Linked DNA regions of Homo sapiens: region 2 is linked to region 1. The links are contacts of gene promoters, found by promoter capture Hi-C in blood cells and fetal thymus (Javierre and others, 2016). All regions are on one chromosome and are shown on one strand. Each heading gives the region's core, a stretch centred on a gene start or on the middle of the fragment in contact. The rest is flanking DNA. Distances are from core to core; before and after follow the strand shown. Region 1 holds the start of EIF2B4 (eukaryotic translation initiation factor 2B subunit delta). Region 2 overlaps ZNF512 (zinc finger protein 512).

The links. Contacts are between HindIII fragments. The CHiCAGO score rates a contact against its expected background, and 5 or more counts as called.
Region 2: a fragment that was not itself captured here is called in contact with the fragment with the promoter of EIF2B4 in region 1 in 1 of 17 cell types (megakaryocytes); the score reaches 5.5 in megakaryocytes.

Annotation. Positions count from the first base shown.
Region 1 is chr2:27,368,839-27,374,042 of GRCh38, reverse strand. It overlaps EIF2B4 (eukaryotic translation initiation factor 2B subunit delta), which reads left to right and starts at 3,705. Exons shown (of 13, transcript NM_001034116.2): 1 at 3,705-3,759; 2 at 4,124-4,167; 3 at 4,494-4,629; 4 at 4,831-5,037. The coding sequence starts at 3,729. It overlaps SNX17 (sorting nexin 17), which reads right to left and starts at 3,427. Exons shown (of 15, transcript NM_014748.4): 1 at 3,237-3,427; 2 at 2,700-2,774; 3 at 1,303-1,420; 4 at 732-796; 5 at 72-182. The coding sequence starts at 3,299. RefSeq lists enhancers at 3,045-3,134, 3,355-3,414, 2,536-3,497, 3,435-3,524, 3,745-4,024 and 1 more. The HindIII fragment of the contact is 1,836 bases long and covers 2,527-4,362 here.
Region 2 is chr2:27,615,962-27,620,826 of GRCh38, reverse strand. It overlaps ZNF512 (zinc finger protein 512), which reads right to left. Exons shown (of 14, transcript NM_032434.4): 12 at 4,503-4,565; 13 at 3,256-3,354. Among named protein-coding and RNA genes, the nearest start is that of CCDC121, 11 kb to the left of the region's middle. The HindIII fragment of the contact is 2,116 bases long and covers 1,813-3,928 here.

The DNA of each region.
Region 1 (5,204 bases), core at 2,456-4,955:
TCCAATCATTCTCCAAGCCCAGGACCCCAGGATGTAGGGGAAGAAGGGGCAGTGCTGAACAAGCGCCTCACCTCCAGGACATCCTCAGTCTGATCTGAAGTTAGCACGTTGACCAGAACTTTCTGCCCGTTGCTGAGCAGCACTTCCAAGGACACTTCCTCTGTGGGGACCTGCTGTGTCTCCTGTTGTGAGCACACATGGGGATGGGAAGCACTGCCTTGTCCCTTGCCTTGACCTATGCCCAACTCTATTTCTAGGTCCCTTGTGTGTCTTTATTCTCAGCTGCTTAAATATAGGCTGTGATTTCTTTGATTTCATAAGAATAGAAGTTCCATTCCATTAAAAAAGATGACTCCTCTGTTATTAAGATGACATGGCCTGGCTGGGTGTGGTGGCTCACACCCGTAATCCCAGCACTTTGGGAGGCCAAGGCGGGTGGATCACCTGAGGTCAGGAGTTCGAGACCAGCCAGGCCAACACGGCAAAACCCCGTCTCCACTAAAAATACAAAAATGAGCCGGACATGGTGGCAGGCGCCTGTAATTCTAGCTACTTGGGAGGCTGAGGCAGGAGAATCGCTTGAATCCGGGAGGCGGAGATTGCAGTGAGCTGAGATCGCACCACTGCACTCCAGCCTGTGCAAAAGAGCAAGACTCTGTCTCAAAAAAATAAAAGACATGACCTTCCAGCAAGGTCCTTTCCTTAAATCTTGGTCCCACCCAAAGCCCTACCTGTTGTGCCCGACGCAGGAAACTGTTGAAAGTCTCGCTGCTCCCAAGCAATGGGTCTTGCCGAACTACGAGGACAAGAGAACATTATTACAGGAACTTAGCACTCACTCTTGGCTCCCCAGTCCTCCTCTCAGTAGGTTCCCCCGACCCCATTTCCTGGGCTGATGGTGGCCTGCCACATCCCCCAGCTGGCCTCACCTCACTCACTGTTTGCATAAATTCTTCACCTGCCCCACCCTTGGCTGCCATCTAGGTGAGTCCAGTCTATAGAACTAGGGAAATAACAATGATGTTAATCTAAAGCACATCAGATACAAATTAAGTTCTCTCCACTGATATTAAGACTAGTGTTATACTAGTATTTCTCATAGATGTTAGTGCCCAAATTGTTTTGCTAGTACACAGAGTTACACATCCTCGTACACTATTTACTTTGCTAACTGCATAACAGATCAAACAAGAGCCTTCCTAGATCTAGAAATTAAATCAGGCCCTTCCACAGAACCAGCTGTTTTTAAGTCTCTCCCCATAGTCCTCAATATAGTCAACCTAGTTTCCTGCAACCACTCACCAGCTTGCATGTACTTCTCTAACTGCTCTCTCCTCTGTTCTACCTCAGCAGGAGTCAGAGAGAAAAGCTTCTTTGGGGGGAATGCAGGAAGCACATTGGCCCCATACTCCTTCCGAAGCTATTTAGAGAAAGAGATACAACCCTTCACATAAACACAGAAAATGAGATGAGGCAATCTACATATGCTCATAATGTTCTCTTGGGTGCCCCTCCCTTCCCTCAGTCCCTGTTCCCCTGTCTACCCTGGTCATCTGAGAAACAATTCCTTTGACAGCGGTAGCACCTCAAGGGAGCTGTCCTAGATATAAGTTGTGCTCTATTTTACTGTGTACAAGTCAGCCCCTCCACAGTACGGGGAGGATTTGTACTGGGCCAGGACCTATAGGGAGCCCCTTGACCACCTAGCAAGACTGTTCACTGAACCCTTAAAGGAAGGAAAGGGCTTTATAAAGTGCACAGTTAATAGCTAAGTCTGTTCACAAAATATCTTAGGACTTAAAGGGACTTTGCAGATCAAAGAATCCATCTTTCAGTTGTAGAAACTGAGGCCCAAAGAAATCAGTTTCTACAGGCCTCATGCCTGTAATCTCAGCATTTTGGGAGGCAAGGTGGGTGGATCACCTGAGGTCAGGAGTTTGAGACCAGCCTGGCCAACATAGTGAAACCCCTCTCTACTAAAAATACAAAAATTAGCTGGGTGTGGAGGCAGCCGCCTGTAATCCCAGCTACTCAGGAGGCTGAGGAAGGAGAATCGCTTGAACCCAGGAGGCAGAGGTTGCAGTGAGCCGAGATCGTGCCACTGCACTCCAGCCTGGGCAACAAGAGAGAAACTCCGTCCCAAAAAAAGATATCAGGTAACTTGTTCAGGGTTGCACAACTAATTATCAGTGGAGCTCTACTGAGTTAAATAGAGTTTAAGATCTGGTAAGGAAGGAGGAGAAACATTGCATCACAGATACATAACGATAATTGGCACAGCTAAACACACTGAAATGAGCCGAAGAACACAAAAGGAAATCGGTGAATCGTTTGTATAAGCAGGGAAAAGAATTTCAAGTTGCCGCTCAGATGACAGAAGGAATGTGCTTTGACAGCCTGGGTGGAGGTAGTGGGGGGAGGGGTTGGTTTGTCCATGCAGGGGTAAAGGCTACTAGAGCAGTAAGACTGGACAGAAAACCAGAATATAAGAACAGGAAGGAGCAGTTGTTGCGCGGACATTAAGCTTCTTAGGGAGTTCCCGGAAATGTCAGACAAGATAAACCAGGGCCCTACCCTGTGGCAGTGATTAAAGGGGAACTACAGCCTACGGGAACAAGAAGAGCGGGTAAAGGGAGACACTGATGTCCACGTGTAGGGAAGGGCTTGAAGCTGTCTCAAGGCAGGGGTGCTAGTCCCACCTGCTCGTGCAGCCCCAGGAGCTGGCTGTAGCGCACCCGACAGTGCAGGACTCCATTCACGTGAATGTTATAGGCCTGAGGACACAAAAGTAGTCAAGCATTTTAGGGTTGCGGTCTGCGCAACCCCCCTGAGAACCCTGGCCGGAAGTTGCCTGGCAACTCGCCGGAGTAACGCGCTAATCTCCCGAGGGATAGTTCGCTTGTTTTCGCCAGGGCCAAGTCCCAAAGCTGAAGAGCCAGTCCGGGGGAAATTCGGACGCTTGTGTTGCAGTCTCACTGCCCAAGAGGCCAGTGACGCCCACCAGGGCAGCTGCGGCCTAGCTCGGGGAAGCGACCCGGCCTAAGGGCCTACAGGAGCTCGGGCGACCACTGCACGAATCACACACATGAGATAAGCTCCCAGAGAGGCCGTCGGGAGTCGGCGGCCCAGGACCAGGCCCGAAGGGTGGCGGTCAGGCCTCAGAGGCCGCTCCGAGATGGCTCGGGCCCGTTATCCCCGCCCCTGCCCGGCCCGGCTCGGCTCCGGCCGCTCCTCACCACGTAGGCGGAGCCGCCGCTGTCCCCGCTGCGGGACTCGGTTTCGGGAATGGAAAAGTGCATGTTCCCTACGGCACGGCACGGCCGGGCTCCGGACTGTGAGGGCCGCAGCGGCTCTGCACGCTCCCCCTCCGCTGCTCAGCGAGTCCCCGCAGCCTCACTCGCCATTTTGGGAGCCCTGCGATCCGATGTGGGAAGGCGGTGGGACGTCGGTTCTGGGACGCAATCGCCTGGGCATGCTGGGAACTGTAGTCTAAAGGGCAAGAGCCACCTGTCCGGATAGGGAGCCCAAAGTGGAGTTGGCCCTCATTGCAACCCGTAGTGCGGGGCGGGGCCTCGGGGCCCGTCGGAAATTGTAGTCCGATTGGGGCTGCGCGCTTCGCTTCTGCGGCTCAGCCTCCAGCCCAGGTGGCGCTGTGGACCCTGCAGCCGCGGAGCGAGGCAGCGGGGCGGCTCCGTGACCACGGCGGGCGGAGCCTAGGACTGAGGGCGATGGCTGCTGTGGCCGTGGCTGTTCGCGAGGGTGAGTGAAGAGCCGGGCCTGCCTACTGGTACGCGGAGCCGACGAGCTCCGGACAGCTAGTGCCGGGCCTTGAGCGCCTTTGGGCCCCGCCGCTCCGTTCCAGCGCCACGCTGGGCTCCGGTCTACACAGTCTCGAGCGCAGTCCCGCGCCGCGCACCGGCTGGTTGCTGTGAGGAGGGTCGGTGACCCCTCCATTCCTTTGATCCGCCGCGCAGTGCGTCCCCACGCGGATCCCTGGCTCGCCTCGCGCCTGCCGGCGGATCCGTGGTCATGCCAACCCAGCAGCCGGCTGCGCCGAGTACTCGTGCCCCCAAACCCTCCCGGAGTCTCTCTGGCTCACTTTGTGCCCTGTTTTCTGATGCAGACTCGGGATCCGGGATGAAGGCGGAGCTTCCCCCTGGGCCTGGGGTAAGTGAGGCTTCCCTCCCAAGCCGCCTGCCAAGCGCTACGCAGGAGGCTGTGCCAGCTTTATTCCGCCCCAGCTCCCATCCCGTGTCGGTTTATTTCTCAGTAAAGCCAGGAGATTTTACAGAGGTCTTGCAACCCTAGGGATATATGATTCTGTCCCTGGAGGAGAAACGTCAGCCTCTGTGGATGTAAGCTTGCAACAGGTAGCTTGTGGAAGTTAGGAAGAACTAGGGATTTAACCATGTGGAAATCTTGTAAGCATCCAATAGTATTTGTTCCCCTTTGGAATTGTTGGGGAAGAGCAGTATCCTATGTCTGTGTCTCAGGCAGTGGGGAGGGAAATGACCAAAGAAGAAAAGCTGCAGCTTCGGAAGGAAAAGAAACAGCAGAAGAAGAAACGGAAGGAAGAAAAGGGGGCAGAACCAGAGACTGGCTCTGCTGTATCTGCAGCCCAATGTCAAGGTGAGTGAGGGGTCTCTTTTAAAGGGCTGGGGTGTGGAGCTGGTAGAGGGATGTGGTGGGAGAGATAAGGGAGAGACAGGACAAAGTTGATTTGAGCAAGTGTGTAAAGCAAAGAGGTTTACAAGGAGAGAAGCTAGTTTTAGCTGGGGCACGGATATCACCTGCCTGCAGCTTGGGCATTTTTTTTTTTAATGCTTTTAGTAGGCCCAACCAGAGAACTGCCAGAATCGGGCATTCAGTTGGGCACTCCTCGGGAGAAAGTTCCAGCTGGTCGGAGTAAGGCCGAACTTCGGGCTGAGCGTCGAGCCAAGCAGGAGGCCGAGCGGGCCCTGAAACAGGCAAGAAAAGGGGAACAAGGAGGACCACCTCCTAAGGCCAGCCCCAGCACAGCTGGAGAAACCCCCTCAGGTATCTTCCCTTCATTTTAAGACCTCCCTTACTCCTAATTATAACGCCAGCTCAGGCTGCCCAATAGTAAAACAGCTCTCCCCTCTCATTCTTGGGACCCAGAGTTCTGAATTGTTCCTGCAACCCCATTATCCTATCCCTATTTCCTTTTCTACCCTATTCTCCCG
Region 2 (4,865 bases), core at 1,621-4,120, 250 kb before region 1:
TATTCCATGACGGCATCGTAACTAAGAGCATAAATTTTGCAGCCAGACCCCCTGGGTGCAAATCCCAGCTCTGTTTCTAGATACGTGACCATGGGCGAATTACTTAACATTTTCGAGGCTCACTTTAAAAAATTAAGGGGTAGGGGACATGAAATCCAATTATGAAGTATTTTTGCCAAAAAAGAAAGAACTTCAATCTTATCAAGTGATCTGTTCAATCTTCTAAATCTACCAATTCATAGGAAAAGCCAGAATAGGGAGTTGAGCCCAATCTCTCTGCCCCACTGCAAGACTCCACTGCAGTGGTCCCTGTACCTCAAAAACAAACAACAACAACAAAAAGCAAAAAAGGAAATGGCCAGAATACAGGAATACTATCATAGGGTGCAATCAGCAAAATTCCAGAATGTGGGTACATGTATGTGACAAGTGATCCGGTTTCTTCAATAAATGGCAAATTTGTAAAAAAGAAGAGGAAGCTTTTAGTCTTGCACCATGCAATGAGATAGCCACTAGCCACATATGGTAAGTGATGTGTTTAAATGTGAGTAGAACAAATTAAGATATGCTTTCATGTAAAATATACAACAAATCTCAAAGACTTGTTATGAAAAAAATGTAAAATATCTCAATAATTTATTGATTTAATGTTAAAAATAATTTTAGATATATTGGGCTTAATAATTATTAACATTAATTTCATCTTTTAAAATACTTTTTTAATGTGGCTACTAGAAAATTTTAAATTATATACATGGCTCACAGTACTTTTTTTGGATAGTGCTGCTCTAGATTAAAACAAACAAATGCAATATTTAGACCTTGTTTTAGATCCTAATTTGAAAAATCAACTCTGAAAAAACATTATAAGATAATCAGGGAAATTTAAATAATAACTAGACATATGATAATATTAAAATTCTTAACTTTTTTAGGTATAATGATGTTTGTGGTCATATGTTTTCAAAAGTCCTTATCTCTTACAGATATATATTGAAAGAAGCACTTACAGCTGAAATTTTATGTGGAATTTGCTTTAAAGTAAGCCTTTAAGGGAGGAGAAAAGTGAGGTTATAAATGACACAAGATTGGCCATACACTGATGATTGCTGAGGATGGCTGACAGCATACTGGGTTCATTATGCTATTTTCTCTACTTTCATGTGTTTGAAATTTTCTGTTAAAAAAAAAAAAGTAGTGTAAGAAAATGTGATGGAGGGAGGAAGAAACAGGGTAAAGATGTTTTACCACCCACAAAATTCATAGAGGCATAAATCAATAAACAAATGCCTGGGAGCATGCCCCAAACCAAGTGAAATTTGTTGGTTCCAATTCTTTTGATTTTAACTTTTTAGGAAGAAAATAGACAAACCATTTAACTATATAAAGGCCAGATTTTGTCAGGAGATAATTACCTTTTTTTTTTAACAGAGTCTTGCTCTGTTGCCCAGGCTGGAGTGCAGTGGCGCAATCTCGGCTCACTGCAACCTCCGTCTCCTGGGTTCAAGCAAATCTCCTGCCTCAGCCTCCCAAGTAGCTGGGATTACAGGTGCCCGCCACCACACCCAGCTAACTTTTTAGTAGAGATGGGGTTTCACCATGATGGCCAGGCTGGTCTTGAACTCCTGACCTCAGGTGATCTGCCCGCCTCGGCCTCCCAAAGTGCTGGGATTACAGGCGTGAGCCACCGTGCCCAGCCGATAATTACCTTTTAAATACTTCCTAAAGCAAAAAAAGATATGCTATTATTACTAAAAAGATATGACTGCCTTCAGAAGACATCTCAGGCTTTGGTTAGGGATTCTGAAAGCTTATGCCAGTAAAGCAACAGAAACCAAATTTTATGGAAGTAATTAAAGCTCACATTGTTAAGTACTATCAAATTTGAGGGCAGAAAATAAATAAAGGTGTTCCCTTTATTTTTCCACATCAGGCAGCAATAGTTTCTGCAGTGAGATATTCCAAGAGAATGCAAATTGTATTCCTAAGCTGTTGTAGTAGGACTATTTAATTATATCATAAACGATTTCTCTGTTCACCTGTATTACTAAAAAACCTTCCCCAAGAGAAAACCCTTGACCTTCTGAACTTTAAAGCATTTTTATACACAATTTTAAAATTTTATTTTGAAAAATTACAAACCTTCAGAAAAGTTGCAACAGTTCAATGAACAATCAAATTTACCACTGTTAATTTCTTTCCTTCCTCTCTTCCTTCTTCCCTCCTTCTTTCTTTTGCTGAACTATGTGCAAATTAGTTGCAGACATCATAATACTTCATCCCTAAACACTTTGGCATATATCTGCCTAAGAACAAGGGCATTCTCCTGCATGACTACAACTATCACCTTTGGGAATGTTAACACTGACACAATACTATTATTTAATACAGTCAGCATTCAAATTTCCCCAACTGTCTCAATAATGTCCTTTAGTTGTTTTATCCAGTATTTTAAACAGCGTTAAAAATGGGTTGCTGGAAGACATTAGAATGCTAGAAGGCATGAATGTATAGAGATCACTGTGAAATAAGAATTTCAAACATGTAAACTCAATCTGGTTCCCAAACATTTGACTTAATTGGATTTAAAGGAATTAGAAGAGTTCAGGCCGGGCATGGTGGCTCACACCTGTAATCCTAGCACTTTGGGAGGCCAAGGCGAGTGAATCACCTGAAGTCAGGAGTTCAAGACCAGCCTGGCCAACGTGGCAAAACCCCATCTCTACTGAAAATACAAAAATTAGCCAGGCATGGTGGCAGGTGCCTGTAATCTCAGCTACTCAGGGAGTATTGCTTGAACCCGAGAGGTGGAGGTTGCAGTGAGCCCTCCAGATTGGGCAACAGAGCGAGACTCCGTCTAAAAAAAAAAAAAAAAAGAGTTCAAGGATGCTTACAGTCACAGTGATTTTTTTTTTTTTTTTGAGTCAGGATCTCTGTTGCCTAGGCTGGAGTGCAGTAGCGCAACCAGCTCACTGCAGCCTCAAACTCCTGGGTTCAAGTGATCCTCCTGCCTTGGCCTCCCAAAGTGCTGGGATTAGAGGCATAAGCCACCCCGCCCACCCCTCACAGTGACTTCAAATACTTTCACAGAAAAATACAATTATATATCTAAGTTTAGAGAATATTTTAACTCTAATGGCTCTGGTAACCACTTTAGAGATACTTTCCTTGACAGCCTTAGTCCATAACAATAGGGACAAAGTCTACCTCTCTTGTGGCTTACATATCAGGCCCACAGGATTACAAAAACCTCACCTCAGCATGGACGGAGTTGATGTGATACTTGACACCACTCTCTGACACAAATTCTTTCTGACATAGAAGACATTTGTATTTTCCAGCCACAAAGTTTCCCTATTTCCAAGAGAGAAACAAAAAAGAATTACTGGTAAATTCAGCAACATAACTGGGCTATGTGTAGGGATTGTTAGAGATGAAAAGAGGGAATTCTACTTCAGCAAAGATAAGAAGGAAAAAGATCCAATATAGTAATAGATTTAGGAAAACCAGCTTGGATGGATGATTATCAACATAAATCCATCCTAGTGCAATTCTGTTCCAATCACCCACCCTACTTCAACACAACCTGAAAGTCTCCTACTTTTTCTCAGGTAATATGCCACATCTTTCTACCTTCCTATGTTCCTTTCACTTCACTTCCAGGTTGTCTTGGTTCCTCCCCCAAAATGATCAAATGCCCAAAATTCACCAGAGGCACCAATGTACAATTCTTCCCACTATGATCTACTGTCGCAAAAAGTGCCTTCAAAATCCAGAATTAGAAGAGTACCATCCGTAATACCTAGTTTAAGGACTCAGAAACTAGGATCAAGATGACAAACTCCTAAGCATTCCTAGACAGATCTGGTTTAGATGCCTACAACTCCCTTGTTGCCTTGAACTGAGACTTCTCTCCCCTCCTGAAGCTTCAGGTTTCCATGGTGCTCATTTTGTGTGAGGAGATTGGAAAATGGCAGCAATTCCCATGGCTGGTAGGTTGTAGGACACCTGGGTCAACATGGAAAAGATTCAGTGAGGTGAATGGCTGTTAGCCTGACACCCTATCCCACCTCCCATCCCGAGAGGCCAGTATGGTTCAGATGGGTATAGAGGATCTTTACCAATCCAGGTAAGCACATGTAAGGTGATTCTACAAAGTTTTAGGCCCACCTAAACAGGGCAGGCCCAGTGTAGGAGATGCTCAAATGCAAGGAGCTGAATCTCTTAGAATTCAGGGATAGGAACTCAGAACAAATATATGTTTCTTCCAATTCCTTTAAATTGATAATGACTTGTGACTATGGTGATCTTTTCTAAGTCTTGGACATGCCCTGGCATCCCACCCAATACCAGACCAAGAATCTTAGAGACATAAAAATCTAAAGCAGCCTCTGAAGATAATGGTAAACAGGACAACTAGCTGTTCACCTAAACTGAATTCTCTTCCATGTCAGACTATTTTAGAGGACATGTTAAGATAGTAAGTTTAAAAAGTTACAAACCAATGTACAAGAGCCCAGGTGAGCTTTAAGGCCAGATACACTGCTGTAGACAGCCTCACAGCCCTGCAAAAGAGAAGAAATAGTATGAAGACTATGCCAAATAGCTCCCTTCTCTGAACAATCTGGCCATTTACACTGACCAACTCCACATTTGAAGGAAGAAAACCAATAATTTGTGCCACAAAACAAACGAAAAAAGAATATACATGCAAGCCGCAAAAGAAGGAAAGCCAAGGAAAGGTAAAAAGAAAAGAAACAGAAGGTGAACAAGTTGTTTAGGAAAGATTAAGCCATTTCCTTCCCTCAGTACTTTCTCTGACACTTAAGAGAAACACAGAAAATTATATAGTTTTTTTTAAAATC